Regions from separate parts of the Homo sapiens genome. Here region 1 is linked to region 2. Evidence: promoter capture Hi-C in 16 types of primary human blood cells and fetal thymus (Javierre and others, 2016). All regions are on one chromosome and are shown on one strand. The core of a region is centred on a gene start or on the middle of the fragment in contact, and the rest is flanking DNA. Distances in the headings are between cores, read along the strand shown. Region 1 has its middle 39 kb from the start of NEK3. Region 2 holds the start of UTP14C (UTP14C small subunit processome component).

Region 1 (6,800 bases), core at 274-2,773, 180 kb before region 2:
CACTTGATGAACGTGTTGAGTGAACGGAAGATTATTTCAGATAGTGCTGAGTGCCGGAAGACAAGGAAACAGCGCGACATGACAGAGTGGGAAGGTCGACTTGGCTAGATGCGGTGCACGGCTGAGAAAGCACTGCTGAGCTGAAGTGGATGGTATGAAGGAATCAGTCATGGGACAATCTTTGGGACAGCTATTCCAGGCCAAAGAATTTTCCATGCCTAAGCTGAAGGCCCTGAGGCAGGGCTGTGCTGGGAATGCACAAAGATGGGAATGAATGGACCCCACAGCACGGGGGCCAATCATTTGTGGGTCGTTGGCAGGCATGTCTTTTATCTAACAAGAGACTATGTTTGCCTCCAGAGGGCACTTGAACATAACAAATGCATCTAAGGGCCAGCTTAGGTTAACACTTAGACAGAGAAGCAGTTTCCTGAAAGCATAACTTCAGAGGCCAGGAAAGCAAAAAGAAAATAATCTCAGCTGAAGCCTTTGCTTATTGAAATTTGAAAGCACCTCTTTTAAAAATTAACTTTTATGAGATAGTACAAGTGTAAGCTAGCAATGTGGTCTTTCATACATTAGTGTTAGTTTAACAACATAGCCCTCCCCTTGGTGGATAGATGAGAGAGCAGTTTGACAGGTAGGAGAGGGGACGAAAGGCTAATTTAGAGAGGTCTCGGCAAGGGTGTCAGGCCTGGGTGAGACCCAAAGCAAGGAGGCTCTGAGAAGCTAAAAGGCAACATAGAGAGGGGCCAAGGGACGGGGGGAATGAGTACAAGAAGGCAAGAGGATGGGCTGGGGGAACCAGAGTACTCTCATGCACTTTAGAAATTGACCTGAGGACAGTTCTGCCTGGTCATATCTCTATCGTCTCCAAAAGTCATGTGCTAAGCACTGTTTCAACATAGTTCTATGTCATATGCTGTGCAATACACACTAGTGTGACATGATCCTGGTCTTCCATGCACCTAAAATCCAAGGCAGTTTTACACATGAATATACTAAGAACGAGTCGTCTTACGTGGAGGGGAAAGACAAGTACCTAGACAATCTAATTTGAAGGGCACGAAACCACTTCATCTTCCGTCCCATCTCCCATAAGTCCTCCTGCTGCTGAGGGGCTTTCCGTGCCCCTCCCTCTTACTTTGTCCTTTGGCTTTGGGCACTAAAGCGCTTGTGAAGAAGCTAATGAAATCTAGGAAACTCATCCATCTGGGTGCAACCTCTCTGGGCCTCCACAGGCCTGGCACCTGTTGCATTGCCTATCTTGTTAGTTTACCTGCTCCACATCTGTGATCTCTGCTAGATCACCAGCCCCTTGAAGCAGGGAACAAGTCATACTCACCTGTGTATTCCAAGGGGACTAAAGCTTCATTTTTCACATAGTGTTATACAGTTACACTAATATCATCTACCTATATATTATATAAACATGCACTTATGTTCATCTTTTGCTGCCGTTCTTTTTTTTGAGACAGGCTCTTGCTCTGTCACCCAGGCTGAAGTGCAGTGGCACTGCAGCCTCTGCCTCCTGGGCTTAAGCAATCCTCCCACCTCAGCCTCCAGAGTAGGTGGGACTGCAAGCACACATCGCCATGCCCACCTAATTTATTTATTTATTTGTATTTTTTGTGGAGGTGAGGTTTCACCAAGTTGCCCTGGCTGGTCTCAAGCTTTTGGGCTTCAGTAATCACCACCTTGGCCTCCTAAAGTGCTGTTTTAGGCTGTGTTTGATACTGTAGTTTGATCTGGTTTATAAGATAGACCAGCTGGAGATCTATCTATCCAGATAGATAGATAGATAGACAGACAGACAGATCCAGAAAGAAAGATAAAAATTTCCCAACTTGAAAGATGCAGAGACAAAACAGCTCTTTTTTTTTTTTTTTTGAGACGGAGTCTCGCTCTGTCGCCCAGGCTGGAGCGCAGTGGTGTGATCTTGGTTCACTGCAAGCTGTGCCTCCTGGGTTCACGCCATTCTCCTGCCTGAGCCTCCCTAGTAGCTGGGACTACAGGCACCTGCCACCACGCCCGGCTAATTTTTTGTATTTTTAGTAGAGACAGGGTTTCACCATGTTAGCCAGGATGGTTTCGATCTTCTGACCTTGTGATCCGCCCGCCTCGGCCTCCCAAAGTGCTGGGATTACAGGCGTGATCCCTGTTTTGTCGCGTCCGGCCCGACAAAACAGCTCTTAATCCACCTAAGAAAAAAAGGAAATACCACATCCAGTATGTACCACACACATCATCCCTCACCCAGATCAGGAAACCTCACGATGAGTTATGCCCCCAGTAAGTCCATCCAGCCTCATTCTCTCCTTCTTTCTGTGCCTTTAGCTAGTACATTGCCTTTGGAAAGATGTCCATAATCCATTAATACTTTTGCTAGTAGAGACACAAGTCAATTGAAGTAGGTAGCTGAAACTGCTGGACAACTGGGTTTATTCTGCAGGCTTATTTCACAAAGAGCAAACCTCAGAAAACTGAGGCCATTGCTGGCCTGGCTAGTTGGATTTCCAGATATTGACCATTCCTGGACTCCTTGTTACAGGTTTTCATACACCTGCTGAGACACATGACTGCGCTTGTTGGATAATCCTGATGTCATTGAGGAAATTAAATGAGATGAGGATGTAAATTGTTTAGTGTGCAGTGGGCAGTCAGTGGTGTTATTATCTCATTTCCACATTGCAGGTATTTATGCTGCACCCCGATTTTGTTGGAAACAGTCTTATGTACTTTTTTTACACAGAGGCATTGAAAGTTAATTCAGAGTTGATTTTAGGGGAAAGGATTACTTTGAACATAAAAGACACAAATTTACAGACATATTTATTGGGAAATGAAGTCACGTATATGGGCAATTCTCGTGACTAAAAAGCAATTAATAAAATAAATTACATTTGATTGCCTGTGAAATACATAGACAAAGTAGGTATGATGGAAAATGGCATAAAACAAACAGCAGAATAGGATACATTTTGCTGCACAAGCAAAGTAGCGACAGAGCCTGTAAGCCTCACCTGGGCCATGACATTCGTGTTCTGCCATCCTGTCACTTGGGAGAAGTGGCTTCATGGTTTACCTTTTTGTGTGTGATCCACTAGCATGAACTACTGATTACTTCATGCAGATGGACAGAATATTCTAAATTTTTCTGAATCTTTGTAGATGTATTATTTATTCACTTAGATCTTTCCAAGATGTATTATTTACTAGATCTAAGTGTTTCTTAGAATTCATGTAGTAATTAAATAATGTTAGAAATGAATCTGGGGTACATTAAATATCATGAGAAGTTCATTAAGGTGAATTGAAATTGCTTGTACCATTAAGGTAACGTGCTATTTTAATATCTTTGCTGTGATTTTTGTAACTTTGTAAGAGTTATCTATTTTTAGTATTTCTACGCTATTATGAATACCATGCATAACATAGTTTTTCGGCTTTTCACTAGTCATTGACTCCCACTTCTAATCATTGGCTATCAACTTTCAAATGATCATTTATTCATAGAATGTTTTGGAATCAGGGTGGTGATTATAAAAGTTGGGTGAGCATTATTGTGTTGTATGGCAGTAAATAGAACTGTTGTCCTGGACTCTAGATACTGGTCAGCATGGGCTTCAAAGATTTCTTTTGGGCAGCTGGACCAACCCCTTCTCTGTGGTTCTTCTGCATCCATGCAACCCCCAGAGCAAATCAGATTCTTGGTGCTGGTCCTTCCTATCTGCTCATCCCACTGCAGAAAACAAAGAATGCCTATCTGTGTCTCAGGATAGGACTGATCCTAAGCTCTCATGCTGGACTCCTCCAAAGATATGCTATACTTTGGAACACAGAAAAACACTTCATAATATCCAGTGCTAAGTGCTTTATAATACAACTGAATGCAAGAGCAACACTATTTTCACTTAGATTTCTGACTTAATGATGATTCAAGAGGTCTGCAGCACCGTGAATTATTAATAGCTGGAAACAATATTCTGATTTCTTTTTCTTTTTTATTGAGACAGAGTTTCGCTCTTGTTGCCCAGGCTGGAGTGCAATGACGCGATCTTGGCTCACCGCAACCTCTGCCTCCTGGGTTCAAGTGCTTCTCCTGCCTCAGCCTCTGGAGTAGCTGGGATTACGGGCATGTGCCACCACGCCCAGCTAATTTTGTATTTTTAGTAGAGACGGGGTTTCTCCATGTTGGTCAGGCTGGTTGGGAACTCCCGACCTCAGGTGATCTGCCCACCTCGGCCTCCCAAAATGCTGAGATTATAGGCCTCAGCCACAGCGCCCAGCCTTAATATTCTGATTTCTTAACATTCTTTCATTTTCCTGAGCTTCTGAATGTAGCAATATATTAACACTCTATAAACAACAACAATATATTCTCCTGGACTCTTTGATAAGGTTGACTAATGAAAATTCACTCACGTCCAGAAGTAGTCACTGCTGAAAAAAAAAATGGTTTTGATGTTCTCTAGAAGTGGCTACATTAGAAATCAGAAGCTATCCTTATAAAGAACGGTGTTGTTCGCCGAGCACGGTGGCTCACGCCTATAATCCCGGCACTTTGGGAGATCAAGGCGGGTGGATCACGAGGTTAGGAGTTCGAGACCACCCTGGCCAAGATGGTGAAACCCCATCTCTACTGAAAATACAAAAATTAGCCGGACGCGGTTGCGGGCGCCTGTAATCCCAGCTACTCGGGAGGCTGACAGAGCAAGACTCCGTCTCAAATAAATAAATAAATAAATAAATAAATAAATAAATAAATAACAGTGTTTACTAACCTTCTAGATAATTTAGCAACCTCATCCAAAATTGTTTTTTTTTTTTTTTGCATAGGTTCCCTGATTTTAAATAGACTTTCAAATTCCATTCCACATTTCCATTTTGACTGTAACAGCTACAAACACTTCTATAGTATTTACTGTGTGCTACACTCGGCTGTAAACACTATTCCATATTTAACCCATTTAATCCTCAGAGTATGCCTGCAAGGTAGGTGCTAACATGATTCCCTTTTCCACAGATAAGGCAACTGAGACCCAGAGAGGGTGCGAAAACTTGTCCGGAGTGCCACAGAAAGGGGCGGAGCCTGGCTGCCTGGTTGCGCCCATCCTGCAGCACAGCAGTGCTCTGCTGTGTCTACTCAACACCTGAGCAGTGGAGGCTTAGTGTGACTGCTTTATGCTCCTGCTTTTTATTTCTTTTCTTTTTTTTTTTTTTTTTTGTTTTTGAGACAGAGTCTCGCTCTGTTGCCCAGGCTGGAGTGCAGTGGTGCAATCTCAGCTCACTGCAAGCTCCGCCTCCCGGGTTCACTCCATTCTCCTGCCTCAGCCTCCTGAGTAGCTGGGACTACAGGCGCCCGTCACCACGCCCGGCTAATTTTTTTGTATTTTTAGTAGAGACAGGATTTCACCGTGTTAGCCAGGATGGTCTCAATCTCCTGACCTCGTGATCCGCCCACCTCGGCCTCCCAAAGTGCTGGGATTACAGGCGTCAGCCACCGCGCCCGGCCCTCTTTATGACTATTTTTAAACTATGATGAAAATTAGAATATATAAATAATCCTTTAATATCCATAAGACTTTGCTTTGTGTATGTTCATGATCAAATTAAAACGTAACTTTTGAGTCCTCACAGGTCGAAAGCACAAGCTCCATTATCAAGAGTAATACAACACCCTCCTAATCTCCACATAGCACAGAGGCAACTCCTCACTATTTTTTTTTTTTTTTTTTGAGACGGAGTCTTCCTCTGTCGCCCAGGCTGGAGTGCAGTGGCGCGATCTCGGCTCACTGCCAGCCCCGCCTCCCGAGTTCACGCCATTCTCCTGCCTCAGCCTCCCTAGTAGCTGGGACTACAAGCGCCCGCCACCACGCCCGGCTAATTTTTTGTATTTTTAGTAGAGACGGGGTTTCACTGTGTTAGCCAGGACGGTCTCAATCTCCTGACTTCGTGATCCGCCCGCCTCGGCCTCTCAGAGTGCTGGGATTACAGGCGTGAGCCACCGCGCGCGGCCACAACTCCTCACTATTAAAAAGAACCATGGTAAGATCTGAATCCTGCACTTAGCGGGAACCTGCGACACGAAAGCCTGGCCAGCCCTTGGAGCCATGCAGGGTGCAGTTAAGCCGGGAGCACCATGTACCACTGGCCTGCCTCGCGGCTTCTGCCTTCCCGACGGCAGCAGGAGACAGAGGGGCGGGAAAGGCTGACCGGTGTCACCTCCCACTCACCCTCTGATTGGGTCTAAGCGGGCAGCGGCAGCCGCGGGGCTCACTACATCCTGGGCTAGTCGGGCAGCACAGGCACACGCGCCCCCGAACGGCAGGGAGGACAAATTAAAACTCTCCTTTAAGTTCCCTAAGTGGGAACTCGCGAGAGCGCGTCAGCTTTTACCCACGCTCCCGCAGAGCCGGTTCCCTGCACCTGGCTCTGGCCGAACTCCCCCGGCCTGGGCTGGCGGCCTCCCGCGCGCCCGCGGGGAATCTGAGTAGCTGGATTTACAGGCGTGCGCCACCACGCCCGGCTAATTTTTGCATTTTTAGTAGAGACGGGGTTTCACCGTGTTGACCAAGCTGGTCTGGAACTCTTGACCTCAGGTGATCCACTCGCCTCGGCCTTCCAAAGTGCTGAAATTACAGGCGTGAGCCACCGCGCCCGGCCTAAAATCACTTGTGAAAAATGAAACTTAAGTGTTATTTTGACTCTACATCAAGAATAAAGACTGAAAAGAAACGCTATTTCATCGGGCAGCAGGTCCTATGGTAATTTTTTTAAACCTCTTTGGTTTGAGAACG
Region 2 (6,065 bases), core at 1,841-4,340:
AATAAAAAAGTGAATCACCTAAGTGAAGCATACTATCGCCGTGCTTATGTTACTGCCTGGATTTCTGGCATATTTGAGACTACTGCATGCCCAACAACAGTGCTGAACTAAATGAAAGTTGTGGTTAGTTTCTGCCAAATGATACACATGAAATATAAATTACTCTAGCCAGCCCTTCTTAGCCATATTCCTAGGAGAATTAAGCCCTTCAGGGAATGATTCAAGTGACTGCTTTCCCAATTATCTGAAGGATGGTACAGAGCTGATATCATCCTGGATGTATAGGAGAGAAATTAAATCATTCCAAATGTTTTTAGAACTGGTGAAATCCCTGCAGAACAGAATTCAGTAGCTCATATCATATTCTGCTTGAAGCTGGAGAGCATCCTGTACTTTCTCAGAGACCTGCATCTTTTACCCTTTCCCTCTCTACTGGCTCCTTCCTATCAGCTAGGAAGCTAGGGCACCACATGCCCTTTCTCAGGTCCTGCAACACCCACCCCTAGCCACTGTCTCTTCTCCCCCTCCCCGTACTTCACAGATAAACTTACTGAAAGTGTGGTTTGCACTTACCAACTCTACTTGTTCACTTCTGAGTGCTTGACTTTTGATTTTTGCTCATAGTCTGACTTTTGCTTCTACTTCTCCCTCAAGACTGCTCTTGCCCAGGTCACCAGTGACTGCCTTACCTTCCCCAGCATCTGGGCAGCATCGGAATCTGTGCCCTCTCCATTCTTCTCCAAACACTCTCTTCCTTGGTTTCTAAGACACTGCACTTGGATGGCTTTCCCCGCCTCTCCATTTCTTCTCCCCATTTCTCAGCTGTTCCTGTTCTCTGCATTTTGTACTGAGAGCCTCTTTTCACTCTGTACATATTCCCCAGGCGATCTTAACCACATCCACGGGAGCTTTGATAACTACCTGCACAAGGACAATCCTCATTTTTTATTTCCAGACCAGACTCCTCTCAACTTCAGACTCCTATATACAAAACTACCTCCTGGACGCATGCCCTCACATGTCCCACAGATGAACTCAAATTCTGCAGGTTCAAAACTTGGCTCATTAATGGCATTTGCTCTTGGATTTCCCCTCTGGGAGAAAGCCAACACCATTCTCACAGCTGCCCTGCTCCCAAAACCCTAGGTAGTCTTCTCTTCCTCCCTCATTTAACACATCCAGTTAATCACCAAGTCCTGGTCAATACTACTGCAGAATGTTTCTCAAGCATGTTCACCTACGAAGTTCAGCTCATGAGCACCTCCATCTGGGCTGCTACAGTAGGCCGGCTCATCTTACTGCCCTTCCAGTCTTGCTCTCCCTGCTCTTCACTGATCCACTCCCCATGTGGCCAGAATGGACTGGAGAAATCAGAAAGCTTTTACGTGCAATACTTAAAATCCTGCTATTTTTTTCCACTGGCTTAACCTGGCCTATATCACCTCTCTGTTGTCTTCCTGCTGAATGTTCCTATTGATGCATCTGTTGTCACTCCTGTCACAGTGCTGTTCCCTCTGCTGGAGACTCTCCCCTCTCTCCTGGCTAACCTCTATTGTTCGGGTCCTGCTCAAGTGTCACATCATTTCCTTGGGCAACTGTTCCCTGCCCGCACAAGTCTGTGTTAGGTTTCTCTTTGGCGCTTTCACATCACCCTGCACTTCCTTAGCATAGCACCTGGCACACGGCACAGCACGGCACGGCACTTGCCTGTGTAGCCTGTTGGTACCACCAGAGGGTGGGAAGCCTCTGACAGGCCAAGCAGCTCCTGTCTCCACCACATCCCTAGCATCCACCCAAGCGCTCAGCAGAGTGAATGCTTAGTAAGTTTCTATGGAAGGAAGCACAGGAGGTCAGATCCCATGCAACAGGTTGGGTCAACAAGTTCTTGCTTAATGTCTGGGCCTAGCACTACACTACTAACTAGGAGTAAAAAGAGTATAAGAGAAATTGAAGTCTTAGTTTAGGAAATGTCACTTTTATGTTATCCTCATTTCCCCTAACAACTAACAGTGTGAGGCACAAAGCGCTTGAGAAATATATGTGGACCCAAATTAAACACAAAGCAGTACTTGATTTTATAGCAAAATGTGTGCTTAACAGGTCAGAATAGAGATAGCAGTTTGTGCCAGAATAAACAAGAAAGGCTAAAGTGCAAGGAGATTTAAGTTGAAGACTTATGATGCAATCTGGCACAAAGAGGAGAGCCATTCCAATGGTGAGGGTAGAATCAATAAAAGACTAAAAGAGTTACTGTGAGAAGCCCCTATGCAAACAGTGGTTCTCAACTTTTGATGCATAACAGAATCACTTAAGCAGCATTATCAAAATACATCTACCTGGGCCTTGTCCAGAGATTCTCATTTGGCCATTCTGTAGGATTAGGGTAGGGCCCAGGAATCTGTACCAGTAAGTATGTAGTGGGGTTAGATGGAGAGAGAAAATGTTGCTGTTAAGAGCAGGGGCTATCTGGGTTAGAATCCGGGCTCTACCACTTACTGTGTAACTGAACTCGAGCAATTTCTAAACCTTCCTGTGCCTGAGTTTCTTTATTTATAAAATGGGAATAACAATAACACCTATCAAACGGGTTTAGAAAGGCTTAAATTAGATAATACATGTAAAAATCTCAACACAGTGGCCCACACACAGGAATTGGTCAATAAATACTAGCTGCTATTATTAACTACTATCTTACAAGGTCTCAAGTGAGGAAAGCACATTTGGTGGATGAGGGCAAGAGAATTAGGGCATGATGCAGATTTCCAGAGTATTATCATTTTATCAAAAGAACTTAAAATGTGTATCTCATGGCACCAAACAAGTTGTTTAAAGGCCAAACTCACCAATCCCAAAATGCTCGTTCCACATGGTATGCAGACCAATTGTTGCTTCAGACAAATAATTCTTTAATTCATCAAATGGAATGTTTATTTTAAATTCCACATATTCTTGAACTCCTAAATCCTCAGACAGCCTTCTCAGTTGGTTTACCCTAAGTTCATCATCTTTGTTACGACAACCTCCAATGAGGACAAGTTTAAGCGAAGGAGGTGACTCAACCATCTTCTTATTCAGCAATTTAGCAAAGGCTCTGATCTGCAATGGATGATTCTTTTCCGGCCTAAACTGGCCAACAGAAACCAGCAAATGTCCTGGGGTCATCTTTTTCTCATGTAAGGGAATGTCCAGAAATGTCTGCACATCACAAGGTGGATAAACAATGTTAGTGCAATTCCCAACTTTCCATAGTGAGAGAATATGGTTTAGTGTCCAAGAAGAATTGACCATGACTACATCACTGCAAGAACCAACAAGTCCATAAATAAAAGCAAATAAATAGTAGTAGATGAGCTTTACTTTGCTGAGAAAAGGATTCCTGGTAATGAAGGCTGCATTATTAAATCCAATATTTTGATTCTTCACTACAGAGAGCATGTCGGTGCTGATAGTAGGATAATGAACATAGCTTCCAACTTGGCAACCCCCTATATACTTAAACAGAGGAAGCGTAAAAGCGTATCCCATTGAATCAATGTAAACATCAGGAACACACTGCATTAGAGCTTCCCAGCCAAGAAAAATGGATCCTAGACTTTGGCCCAGCAGTGTGAAGTGAGGATACAGTGAATCTTCCACAAGATAGCGTTTCCTTAAAAAAACAAACTGCACTGGGTGAATTAATCTGATGTTAAATCTTCTGAAAGCACCTTCTAGTATCTGTTGACCGTTGACATTAACATCGCCGGTATAAACAACATAAACTGCTTCAGGATACCTAAAATAGAATGTAATGGTTAAGAATATATTAAGTTACAAAAATTAGCCAGACACGGTGGCACGCACCTGTAATCCCAGCTACTCAGGAGGCTGAGGCAGGAGAATCGCTTGAACCCAGGAGGCGGAGGTTGCAGTGAGCCGTGATCATGCCACCGAACTCCAGCCTGGGTGACAGAGTGAGACTCCATCTCAAAAAAAAAAAAAAAAAAAAGCCTGCTACCTACCCTGAGAGACTGAGAGCCGAGACTGCATCACTGCACTCCTGCCTGGGCAACAAGTGTGAAACTCCGTCTCAAAAAAACAAAAACAAAAACAAAAAAAAGAATATATTAGGTTAAAATCAAGCAAAAAGTTGTAGATAACTATTTTCTTACAGTTATAAAGAAGATTTGATTTTTTTTTTTTTTTTGGAGACAGTTTCACTCTTGTTGCCCAGGCTGGAGTGCAATGGCGCCATCTTGGCTGACAATCTCTGCCTCCCGGGTTCAAGTGCTTCTCCCGCCTCAGCCTCCCGAGTAGCTGGAATTACAGACATGCACCACCACGCCCGGCTAATTTTGTATTTTTAGTAGAGTCAGGGTTTCTCCATGTTGGTCATACTAAAAATGATGTTTTCTACATTTTTTATTGAATTAGAAGTACAGTCCTTCAAATGAGACCATGACTTCTAGTTCTTTGCTATTTCCTCCACTGAGGGTTTCACACAGAACAGGCATCAACAGTAAGTGTTGATTTATGAATGAGATGGTCTAAAGAAATACTAAAAAGTTTTGACAGTGTTCTTAGTAAAAAAAATGGTAATAAAATACTATAAACAAGAATTAAGATTCAACAAACCTGTCTTCAGATAGGATCACAATACTAAAGCAATACTCAGGGTTTTTATCTGAAAAATGCAAGTCTTTAAAAGCTAGATCTTGTGCCTATATCACAATTAGATATAATTAGTATGAAAATATCTAAAAGTATATTCTTTAATGACTTGTAATACTTTGGTCTCCCTCTGTTTATAATTATTCTTTGAGTCATAAAACATTTATTGGCTGGGTGCAGTGGCTCACGCCTGTAATCCCAGCACTTTGGGAGGCCGAGGCGGGTGGATCACCTGAGGTCAGGAGTTCAAGACCAGCCTGACCAATATGTGTGGTGTGGTGGCACATGCCTGTAATCCCAGCTACTTGGGAGGCTGAGGCAGGAGAATTGCTTGAACCCAGTAGGCGGAGGTTGTGGTGAGCCAAGATCGCACCACTGCACTCCAGCCTGGGCAACAACAATGAAACTCCATCTGAAAAAAAAAAAAAAAAACAAATTTATTAAGCATCTAGTAATGAGATGCCAGGTTTTGGGGGTATGGAGATGAGAGAGAGTCTTTATCTTCAGAAGTTCAGTCCAGTGGAGAAAACAGACATGCAAAACAAATAACTGCAAAACTGTGTGCTACGCATTGATAAAGACACCCACAGGATGCTGGGGAAGCCTAAAGGATGACAATCTAACTGCTCCTCTCTGGCCCCTTCCCAGTCACTCTTTACCCAGCAGCAAGAATGAGCCTTTTAAAATGTGAAAAAAGATTGTGATCTCTGGTAGCCTAAAAATGCCCACAAATTCCATTTGTTTTTTCTTTCTTTTTTTAAGACAGGGTCTCGCTCTGTCTGTCGCCCAGGCGGGAGTACAGTGGCGTGATCTTGGCTTATTGTAGCCTCCACCTCTCGGGTTCAAGTGATTTTCGTGCCTCAGCCTCCTGAGAAGCTGGGATTACAGATGTGTGCCACCATGCCCAGCTAATTTTTGTATTTTTTAAGTAGAGAAGGGGTTTTGCCATGTTAACCAGGCTGGTCTCAAACTCCTGGCCTCAAGTGATCTGCCAGACTTGGCCTCCTGAAGTGCTGGGATTACAGGTGTGAGCCACTGTGCCCGGACGGGCCACAAATTCTTTGATACTTTTCTCACTGAGAGGTGGCATCTAAGTCCCCTCCCCTGGAATAACACCTGGCTCTGTGACTATTTTGACCAACAGAATATGGCAAAAGTGACATTGTGCCAGTTTCCCAACATAGACTCTAAGGGACTGGCAGCTCCTACTTCCTGTCTCCTGGAATGCTCATGCTAGGAGAAGACAGCTGTCATGTACGGAGTCCAACCAGCCCGAGATTGCTATGTTGTATGCAAGCACAACCAAGTCACATGAAGAAGCTCCTCAGTGAGAGAGATGCCCGACAGCCCCCAGCAGGTCCAGTTATCCCAGCCCAAGAACCAGAATGTGAGTGAAAAAGGCTTCAGATGCCTCC

What was found. Contacts are between HindIII fragments. The CHiCAGO score rates a contact against its expected background, and 5 or more counts as called.
Region 1: a contact is called between a fragment that was not itself captured here and the fragment with the promoter of UTP14C in region 2, in 1 of 17 cell types (fetal thymus). The highest score is 5.1, in fetal thymus.

The regions. Positions count from the first base shown.
Region 1 is chr13:52,195,105-52,201,904 of GRCh38, reverse strand. No RefSeq gene overlaps it. Among named protein-coding and RNA genes, the nearest start is that of NEK3, 39 kb to the right of the region's middle. The HindIII fragment of the contact is 304 bases long and covers 1,372-1,675 here.
Region 2 is chr13:52,021,716-52,027,780 of GRCh38, reverse strand. It overlaps UTP14C (UTP14C small subunit processome component), which reads right to left and starts at 3,090. Exons shown (of 2, transcript NM_021645.6): 1 at 2,844-3,090. It overlaps ALG11 (ALG11 alpha-1,2-mannosyltransferase), which reads right to left. Exons shown (of 4, transcript NM_001004127.3): 3 at 2,844-3,775. The HindIII fragment of the contact is 12,744 bases long and covers 1,381-6,065 here.